3 separate regions of the Homo sapiens genome follow, and regions 2 and 3 are each linked to region 1. The links are contacts of gene promoters, found by promoter capture Hi-C in human tissues and cell types (Jung and others, 2019). All regions are on one chromosome and are shown on one strand. Each heading gives the region's core, a stretch centred on a gene start or on the middle of the fragment in contact. The rest is flanking DNA. Distances are from core to core; before and after follow the strand shown. Region 1 holds the start of CNDP2 (carnosine dipeptidase 2). Region 2 has its middle 80 kb from the start of FBXO15. Region 3 has its middle 110 kb from the start of FBXO15.

Evidence for each region. The method cuts DNA at HindIII sites, captures the fragments that hold promoters and counts their contacts. A contact is called where the count stands out against the background at its distance.
Region 2: a fragment that was not itself captured here is called in contact with the fragment with the promoter of CNDP2 in region 1 in 3 of the 25 tissues and cell types used here (lymphoblastoid cells, mesenchymal stem cells and spleen).
Region 3: a fragment that was not itself captured here is called in contact with the fragment with the promoter of CNDP2 in region 1 in 1 of the 25 tissues and cell types used here (spleen).

Annotation. Positions count from the first base shown.
Region 1 is chr18:74,494,904-74,498,229 of GRCh38, reverse strand. CNDP2 (carnosine dipeptidase 2) reads right to left here and starts at 1,867. Exons shown (of 12, transcript NM_018235.3): 1 at 1,799-1,867. RefSeq lists enhancers at 759-858, 1,242-1,754, 2,312-2,581 and silencers at 1,352-1,401, 1,532-2,041. The HindIII fragment of the contact is 9,626 bases long and covers 1-3,326 here.
Region 2 is chr18:74,066,574-74,069,922 of GRCh38, reverse strand. No RefSeq gene overlaps it. Among named protein-coding and RNA genes, the nearest start is that of FBXO15, 80 kb to the left of the region's middle. The HindIII fragment of the contact is 9,534 bases long and covers 1-3,349 here.
Region 3 is chr18:74,039,188-74,042,485 of GRCh38, reverse strand. No RefSeq gene overlaps it. Among named protein-coding and RNA genes, the nearest start is that of FBXO15, 110 kb to the left of the region's middle. RefSeq lists enhancers at 1,394-1,523, 1,398-1,692. The HindIII fragment of the contact is 4,124 bases long and covers 1-3,298 here.

The DNA of each region.
Region 1 (3,326 bases), core at 618-3,117:
GAGCGCAGCTCAGGATGTGCACACAACAACGAATCGCCTAACAATGCATTTTCTTGGAATGTATCCCCATCCTTAAGCAACATATGACTGTAATTATCTAAGTTACGACTTTCACTAAAAGAGAGGAAACAGGGATCAGATTGTTCCACCATCAGAGATGGGCTAAAAAGCAACTCCTGTTAATCACTCATCCAGTCAAACCAGGCTAGGCCAGGTTCCAGTTTCTCCTCCCATTCACACTTCTGGGTTACTCCTGTTTCACTTCCCCCCACCTCCCCCGTTACAAAGCCATTAAATGGAACCATTTTTATATGCTCTGGAGAACACCACTAATTAAGGTAAAAGCAGTATGCTGATTTAAGCAAAAGCATTATCCTTTTAAATGACACCTCACTCCCCTCTAAAAATCTAAAGTTCATACGGAGTAACTTTATTTATTTATTTAGAGACAGGTTGTCATTCTGTCACCCAGGCAGGAGTGCATTGCTGTGATTTTGGCTCACTGCAACCTCTGTCTCCCAGGCTCAAATGATCCTCCTGCCTCAGCTTCCCAAGTAGCTGGGACTGCAGGTGCGCACCACCACACCCAGCTAATTTTTGTATTTTTTGTAGAGACGGGGTTTGCTCGTGTTACTCAGGCTGGTCTCGAACTCCTGGACTCAAGCGATCTGTCCGCCTTGGTCTCCCAAAGTGCCGAGGTTACACACATGAGCCACCATGCCTGGCAAGGGAGTAACATGATTTAAATGTTGAGACTAGTGGAGGGCAGGAGAAATTGCTGTGGCACCTGGAACCGTCAGTAGTACACACAAATGAGTCTTCTAGTTCTGAGAATCTCAGTCCCTGTCCCTTGATAATTGAAGGCATATATAACACAAATAACTGAATCACACCTTCATGTCTGATTAAGAACCAATAAAAGAATCTCCAATCTGCCCAAGCTAGAACTTGATCCCTAAGCATAATGTGGACTTCTCTTCCTCCACTCCTGCCTGCAAACATTAGGGACAAGGAAGGTATTGGTAGCAGGCCCCGGGTTCTCCGCCTCTTCCTGCAGTCTATGCTTGGATGATCTACGGAATCTGACCTTGGCAGGCGGTGGGGAGTTTGGTTTGGTGGCCCTGTCTGTGAGGACCAAATATTGTCTCTATTTCACAGATGAGGAAACTGAAGCCAATTGAATAAGACACCTGCCCCAGACCATCAAGCTGGCATGGGAATTTTGTCTCCCCTCAGACGCTTCCTCCTATAGCCTTAAACGCTGCCTCAAATGCTGGCGGGAGCTAGGGACGCTGTCCAGGGCCCTTTGAACCTGGGAGGCTTCTGTCCCGCCACACTCCCCACCCCAGGTCTCCGGGAAAGGGATCCGTTGGAGAAAGGCTGGAGTTCTCAGCAGGCCCCTGGGGAGGGGTGTGGCCTGACCAGCGCTCGGCTCCCCGCAACCCCATCTCCAACCCGGGTCGTTCCACTCGACTCCACCAGGGAGGGCCACGCAGGCTCAGGCCAAGTGCGCCGCCCAGCTTGTCCCTGCGTACCGGGGACGCGCTCGGCGCTGCTGGGACACGAGTGGCCCGGAGGTGCGAGAGGCCCCGGGGCCATGGCCGTCACGGGCCTCCGCCCCCGACCGCGCGCTCGGGAACAGCCCGGACACCATTGTTCCCGCCTGGCTGCGGCCGGGCGCCCCACGCTCCCCCACGAATGAGGCGTGACTCTCGCCGCTGACCCGGGTCCTCCCCGCCCAGCCCGTTCCCAGCTCAGGGCGCCCACCCGGGAAGGAAGGTCCATCAGGAAGACCCACCTGGGAAGGAAGGCCCACTAGGCAAGGCCCTGTTACCAGCAGCAAGCGCGGCGCCGGTTCCGTACCACGTGTCCCGGCCACGACCCCCGGCGCTGGCCCGCCCCGCGGTCGCCCTGGCCACCAACCCCGCCTTGTCCGGAGGGCAGGCATCGCCACGCCCCCGCCACGCCCACCAATCCAGCCACAGGCAGAGGGGTGGTGTCACTCTCTCCCCGCCCCATTTCCGCCCTGAGCCAGGTGCGGAAGGTGACGTCACCTCTCCCAGCTCCATTTCCGTCCCGCCCACCAATCCCGGCCTGGTCCACAAGGCTTTCGCCTCGTCGCCCCTCCCCGACGGTAGACGGGGATGTGGGCGTGGCGAGGGGGCGGAGATTTCGTGGGTTGGGATTCAGGGGAGGCAGGGCACACGGGAGCGCGTGTCCGGAGCTGTGGGCTTGTGCTGTGCTTCCCGGTTGCTCTTGGGTGGGCGGGGGGCCTGGTGCTTCAACGGTGGGGTCCGAGAAGTCGCCTGCAGTGCGGCAATGGAGTCCAAAACTAGGGGGCCCTGACTCCACCCTCTGATCTCCCAGGCTCCGGAGGTCCCACGACGCTCCCATTCCCTTGCGCATCCAGCACTGCACTTTCCGTTGCGTTTCAGTCCCGGCGGAGTCGGGGCACGGACTCCTGCGGGTCACACAAGCTCCAATGAGAGGTCGGTCTGAACTGGATTAGGAAAGCGTTCGCCAGCATCGTTACCAGTAGTGGAAATATTTTAGTATTTGTGTCCCATGACCCTAGGAACTGATGAAGGAAGCAGAGCCAGCACCGTGTTTGAGCGTCTGCGACAGCGCTTTCCTTTTTAATCTTAACAACAATTCTTGGGGGTAAAATTGTTATTCCCTAGTCTGCTCACTTTTCCAATAGAGTGTTCTCAAAAGACTTTCTTTAAACTTGTACCACTACCACATTCTTTAAGGAGTGATGGCTCGGGAGTTATTATTTTTTAAAAATGAATTTAATAGTTGTAAGAGATGTATACGTTCCCACATAAAGTAAAATGTTAAAATTGTCTCCTCCCTTAAAATTTACATGGTTTGTTTCCTCTTTTTATATTTATTTATTTATTTATTTATTTATTTATTTAGAGACAGAGTCTTGCTCTGTTGCCATGCTGGAATGCAGTAGCCCAGTCTCAGCTCACTGCAAGCTCCGCCTCCCAGGTTCAAGCCATTCTGCCTCAGCCTCCCGAGTAGCTGGGACTGCAGGTGCGCACCACCGCACCCAGCTAATTTTTGTATTTTTAGTAGAGACAGGGTTTCACCATATTGGTCAAGATGGTCTCGATTTCTTGACCTACTGATCCACCCGCCTCAGCCTCCTAAAGTGCTGGGATTACAGGCGTGAGCCACCCCGTCCCCCCCATCCCTGCCTCCTCTTTTATTTTTTATTTCTATTCCACATCCCTCATAGAATTTTGTTAAATGTAACATTTTTATACTTAATAGTCTTACTCATATCCTAATCATTTCTCTACAACAGACTATGATAA
Region 2 (3,349 bases), core at 555-3,054, 430 kb after region 1:
TGGAACCACAGGTGAAATGCGAAAAGGGCTGTAGTTTATAGCATGTCAGCATTCATTTCCTGACTTTAATATCAAAATGTGACGTCACCATTTGGTGAGTCTGAATGACGGGCATATGGGAAAACTTTGTTATATTTTTGCAACTGTTTTGTAAACCTGAAATTGTTTCAAAGTAAAAAGTTAACAAAAAAAAAAAAAGGTTTTCACATCTTCCCATGCCCTTTGTTTTGTGGAATTCAGGCTGTCTTTGTCAGTCTATTTGCCTTGCTCTCAGGGTTGCCTGTTGGAGCCTCTGTGTCTGCTCATATTTAAGACTGAGGCCCTCAGAAGTGCAGCAGGAGGTCAGCCGAGGGAACCCACTTGTGCAGGAGGTCTGCCGAGGGGACCCACTTGTCAACTGATGGGTACACTGGAGTAATTGGGCCCTGCACTGCGTTTGGTACTGGGACCTCCAAATATGCGTATTAGGAAGTCTGTTCTTTAGGGCTGCCAGTTTCTTCACAGGAGAATTCTCCCATTTCACAAGAGCCCAGGGTTGCACAAGAGTCCCTCGTGTAAAGGGTGTGGAGAGGGGCTTGCTGTGGTTACAGCCTGGAGAAAGTAAACCTGCCACAGCTTGGGCCATGCTGAGAAGGGAACAGCATGTCCAGATAGAGTTGGACTTGATTCTTTACATGATCGGAAGTTCTTAAATGTTTTGCTTTGTTTTCATATACAAAGGTAATACATTCAAATAATAGGAAGATATAAATCAGAATATAAATGAAAATTTTGTTTCTAAACTACTCCACCTCCATTTGGCCAAAGCAAACTGTCATTGGTTGGACGTGGTTTCCACACAGATGGGAAAGGATGGATTGGAGCAGGAGGACGTGAAGGCAGGGATAACAGGTGGGAGGTCGTGGTGGGAATCTGAGCAGAAGTAACATTTGTGTGCTTTTGGCCTCCTATGATTAAGGGTGTGAGAAAGGGAAGTGGACCAGGACATGAAGCAAAAGATCTTAGGGGAAAATAATTTACCTTAGTAGTATTTAGGTGACCAGAGCTTTCCAAACGTTAGCAATTTGAAAACAACTGGGAAATCTACTTTGGGAGACACTTAAAAATGTCTTTCTCCAGGTTCCTAAATGACAAGACAATATATATTTTTTTTAAATCAAGGAGTTCAGTTTGATAATTATTTTTAGTTTTTTTCTTTTGAAGCACTCTCAAAACTTACAGAACTGTTACAAGTGCAGTTCAAATAACTTTTTTTTAAATGACTGAATCATTTGAGAGTAAGTTGCTAACAGGTTGCCCCATCACCTCTCAATACTTTAATGTATATTTCCTACAAACAAGGATAGTTTCCTAATAACATAATCACAGCCACCACAATCAGGAGATCAACACAACTGATGACAATGATCTCATGCTTAGACCGCCCCCATTCACGTTTCCCCAGTTGTCCCAGTAATGACCTCATAGCAGAAGGTCCAGTTCAGGATCAGGTGCTGTGTTTGGTTGGCCCATGGCTCTCCTCCCCTTCACTCTGGAATGGCTCACCAGGCTTCTTGACTATTACGACCTTGATACTTTTGAATGTCACAGGCCAGTTATTTAAAAGAATGTCCCTCAATATGAGCTTGTCTGATAATATGTATTTGATACTGTTTGGCTGTGTTCCCACCACATCTCATATTGAATTGTAGTTTCCATAATTCCCACGTGTTGTGGGAGGGACCTGGTGGGAGGTAATTGAATCATAGGGGCAGTTACCTCCATGCTGTTCTCATGATAGTGAGTTCTCATGAGATCTGATGATTTTATAAGGGGCTTCTCCCCCACTTCGTTCTACACTCTCCTTGTTGCTGCCATGTGAAGAAGGACATGTTTGCTTCCCCTTCCACCATGAATGTAAGTTTCCTGAGGCCTCTCCAGCCATACAGAACTGTGAGTCCATTAAACCTCTTTTCTTTATAAATTGCCCAGTCTCAGGTATCTCTTCATGGCAGCATGAGAATGGACTAATACAGCATCTTTGTCAGAAAATATTGCAGAAGTGGTGCTGTGTTCTCACTGTGTCCTATCGGGGTCATAGGATTTCAATTTGTCCCCTTACCAAACTGTTCCCTGCAGGCCCTGGATGAGAATGGTGTCTGGCATCTTCTCTGGTTACTTTTCCCACCTTAGTGATGATTATTTTGTGGGAGGTACTTTGAAACTAGGTAACTGTCCTATTCATTGGCAAACTTTTAACATATTTATTTGTTTCTATCAGTATAGAATCATGGTTTTCTTTTTTTCCTCACTGGGTTGTCATCAGTTACCATTATTATTTATTTCTGTGCTCAAATTTTCTCAGGTCTGTCTGGCAGAAGCCCTGGCTAGTGATATGTCCCCCATCACTCTCTGGACACTTCCTTTCTGGAATAAGGTGGTTCAGACTCATCCTGTACTTTCCCTGCCACAGCCCTGGAATCAGCCTTTCTTCAAAGAGCGTGGCTTCCTTCTGGTGGAGAGTATTTGGAAACAAAGATGTGGGTGCCAGGCATGCTCATTCCTACTGAGGTGTCACTGCTTCACTTCCTCTCCAAGAACAGCATCAGGAATGTAAGTATTCCCCCTCATATGTATGCTACACATTCACTTATATCCTTTTTTTAGGTTGTTGCAAAAGTAATTGCGGTTTTGCCATTACTTTTAATGGCGAAAACCGCAATTACTTATGCACGAACTTAATATATCCGCAGATATTGAAAAGCACGAATTCACTCCTGTATCTTCAGTTTCAACACAGCACCACAAGGTCATTCTTGTTTTCTCCTTTGGATGCTTGGTGCTCGCATGCCCACCTGACTCCCATCATCCTGAATCTCTTTCCTCCTCGGGGCATCCCATCCCATCTCCCATCACACCTCTCCTGCAGATGCCTCGCTTCCTCTCCTGGGCTCTGACAGATTGTGATGAGAGGCTCAGGCACAAGGAGACCCTCTGCACTATGCCAGGGCCCCCACCCCTCATGCCTCAGGGCGCCCACTCCTGTTTGTGCGGCCCTCTCATCTACTGAGGCTCAGAAATGTCACACTCAACCATTGACCTATAGGATTAAAGATTACTTTTCATGCCCACAACATCCTGGCATTCGGATGGATGATGGGCAGAACTCGTGGTTACTTGCAGCTCCAAATGAGAGAAGGCTGCCAGATAGGGCTGCTTGGGGGTTGCCCCTGGGGACAGGGTAACAGCAAGCTGGCATTGCAGAAGCAGCCTATTAATGGTGAGCTGGATGTGGAGGGAGACTAGCTAGGTCTGGCAGCCTCCCTGTGGATTGGCTGACTTGAATAATTCTGTGGGCATATCCTAGTTG
Region 3 (3,298 bases), core at 547-3,046, 460 kb after region 1:
TATGTTGAGGTTTTGGTGTGGTGATTTAATAGCACAGAATAAAGAAAAAAAATGTGATAGAGACCAGATAATTTAAAAAGTTGAGGAGTGTTAGTCTCTTTTGAGATAAATCTGTTAGTCTCTTTTGAGATAAATCACTACTAGTCTTTCAAATTGGGTTTGCATTTGTTTGTAGTTGGCCTTCAGGGTGGAGCAGCAAGGACAATGGCTAGAGCATTGCTTTTGCCACTGGGGCAGCTTTGCTTCTGTTCTGCACTCTGCTGCCCATTAATCGAGTCACCTTGTATGTGTGATTTGGTTCCCTGGGTCTCAGTTTTGTCATTTGTGAAATATCATCTGTGTAATGATAGAAAATGTCTCATAAGATTGCTGTGTTAAATAACGTGGGTAGCACCTGGCCCATAATAAATGTCCAGCTAATACAGTTATCATTTCTCCGTGTTTATACTGAGCAGTGTATTACAGAGAATTATGTCTGTGCGTATTACTTAGCAGCACGGCTGAAAAGGGAAAAGTAGAGTAGAATTGGGAATCAGGTACAGAGGCTTGGAATTTATCTACTGCAAGAATTGGCATTATTTCTTTTTGCTTTGTTTCTTTTCCTATCCTGTTGAATCATGTCCTTGGAAAGCTGAAATTAATCTCATCCTAAAATCTAGAAACTGCTAGTGTAATACATACAAAATACATACTCTTCTCATAGTTTGCATTCCTTCTGATTTAAAATAAGTTATTGAAAGATTTGTTTTCTTTTTCCAGTTCATTTATGTGATCATTTCATTGCACTCTTACTAGCATTCACAGTGTGGTATGCACTCTGCTGAATATAAGCCAGAAAGCTGAGAAAAGAGGAAGAAAAATTCAAAGAGGAAGAGTAGGAGAAAGCTTTGGTCTGGGGAGAGCTTGCAGACCCATGGGGCACATGGTCCTGAGGGCAAGTGGTCTCCATGTATTGTGGTGTATGGGCAGTGGTCTTTGCATGCTGTAGTCTCCACATACAGTGGGCTCCACATGCTGTGGTCTCTGCATGCTGTGGTCTCTGTATGCTGTGGCCGCTGTGTGCTGTGGCCTCCACGTGCAGTGGTCTCTGTGTGCCGTGGCCCCTGTGTGCTGTGGTCTCTGAGTGCTGTGGTCTCTGCGTGCTATGGCTTCTGTGTGCTCTGGTCTCTGTGTGCTGTGGTCTCTGTGTGCTGTGGCCCCCGTGTGCAGTAGTCTCTGTGTGCTGTGGCTTCTGTGTGCTGTGGTCTCCGTGTGCTGTGGTCTCTGTGTGCTGTGGTCTCCACGTGCTATGGCCCCCGTGTGCAGTGGTCTCTGCATACTGTGGTCTCTGTGTGCTGTGGCTTCTGTGTGCTGTGGTCTCTGTTTGCTGTGGTCTTTGTGTGCTGTGGTCTCCACGTACTATGGCCCCCGCGTGCAGTGGTCTCTGTGTACTGTGGTCTCTGTGTGCTGTGGTCTCTGCGTGCAGTGGTCTCTGTGCCCTGTGGCCTCTGCGTGCAGTGTTCTCTGCCTGCTGTGGTCTCTGCTTGCTGTAGGAAGGCCTCCATGGGAGCCATGTGGAGCAGGCCTGCTGCCCCCTGCTGGCGGGGTGAGGAGGCATCACCGAGACTGTTCTGTGGTGGGAAAAGGAAAGTTGTAGAAGAAAAATTTCACTAGAGGCCTGTTAAAAACGGCCAGAAAGACTTTACCCAAGACTATTGCAATAGGAGAGAGAGAGAGAGACAGAGAGAGAGAGAGAGTGCGAGAGCACGCGCGCACGCTAGAACTCAACTGTGTTGAGACGAAAAGCAGGAGTGGTTTGAAGGGTAGAAAGCTCTAAGTATGTCAGGGCAGAGGCCGGTCCGTGGGATTAGGAAAGCTGTGCTTGCTAAGTGACCTTTGTTTTCCAGGTTCCTACCTTCCCATAGAGACTGAGGAATAAGGATGCTGTCTTTCTTTTCCTCCAGCTTTATTGAGGTATAAGTGACAAAAATTGTATATCTTTAAGGTGTACTTTTTGGTGTCTTAGTATCTGTGTGCACTGTGAAATGATCACCATAATCAAGGAGGTATCTTTCTTGATGATTATATTTCAAAGTGATGGCCCTCAGGTCCTTGAGGAAGACAATTCTGGGCTATAAAACTGGCTAGAGGCTGGAGGAAGCTTTACATCTCAAAGCGGCAGATAAAGGAATCACAATGGCAAGTTTTCTAAAGTAAATGCTCTAGGAAAAGCGAAATCGGGCTCTACAGTCAGGAGGAAGCCTGCCTAAAGTTTAGTGCAGCTGAGGGGATAGTGAGGCCCTGTGAATCACAGTGAGGGGGCCAGGGAAGGATATGAGGGAGAACAAAGGGGCTCAAGGCCCAGAGAGGCTGTAGAGTGGGAATGCTCAAGCCATGGCTCCAAAAGGCACTGGCCGGCTTCAAATCCAACACCCTCACTTCCTAAGTATGTGACAGAGCCAAGTGACTTGAGCTCTTGGGCCTTGACTTCCTTTCATGTAAAATGGGCATATTGTCTGAAGGATTAAATCAAGTAATTCCTGTGAATGCTTAGCCGACTGCCTGGTGTGTGCTACGGGATAATGTAAGGGTTTTATTTGATATGATTGCATAGAGATCGCAGGCAAATAGTGTGATATTCTTGAATGGCAGGGGTTGGAGCTGAATGTCTTCATCGGGCCAGGATGGGAGGGCCTGTGTGTGTGTTCCTAAAGAGTTCAACCTTAGGGGAGGACATGAGAGTTTTAAGCAGGTTGTGACATGGTAACATGTAGATTCTTAGAACAATCTGGCATTCATGAAGAGAGTATGTGTGTTAGTCCATTTTCACACTGCTATAAAGAAATACTTGAGATTGGGTAATATATATAGAAAAGAGATTTCGTTGGCTCATGGTTCTGCAGGCTGTACAGGAAGCATGGTGGCATCAGCTTCTGGGGAGGCCTCAGAAAACTTAGAATCATGGCGGAAGGCGAACAGGAAGCTGGCACTTTACACAGCCAGGAGCAGGAGGAAGGGGGAGGGGAGGTGCTACACACTTTTAAACACCAGATCTTGTGAGAACTCTATCGCGATACAGTACCAAGGGAGGAGGCTGCTAAACCATCATGAAAACTCCACCTCCATGATCCAGTCACCTCCCACCAGGCCCCACTTCCAACCCTGGGGATTACAATTCGACATGAGATTTGGGCGGGGACACAGATTCAACCATACCAGTCCATTACATACACAGAGCAGTAATTTTTTTTCTGTTATTTTTGGGAATAATAATTTTTTTTTTTTGAGACAAAGTCTCTCTCTTGTTGCCCAGGCTGGA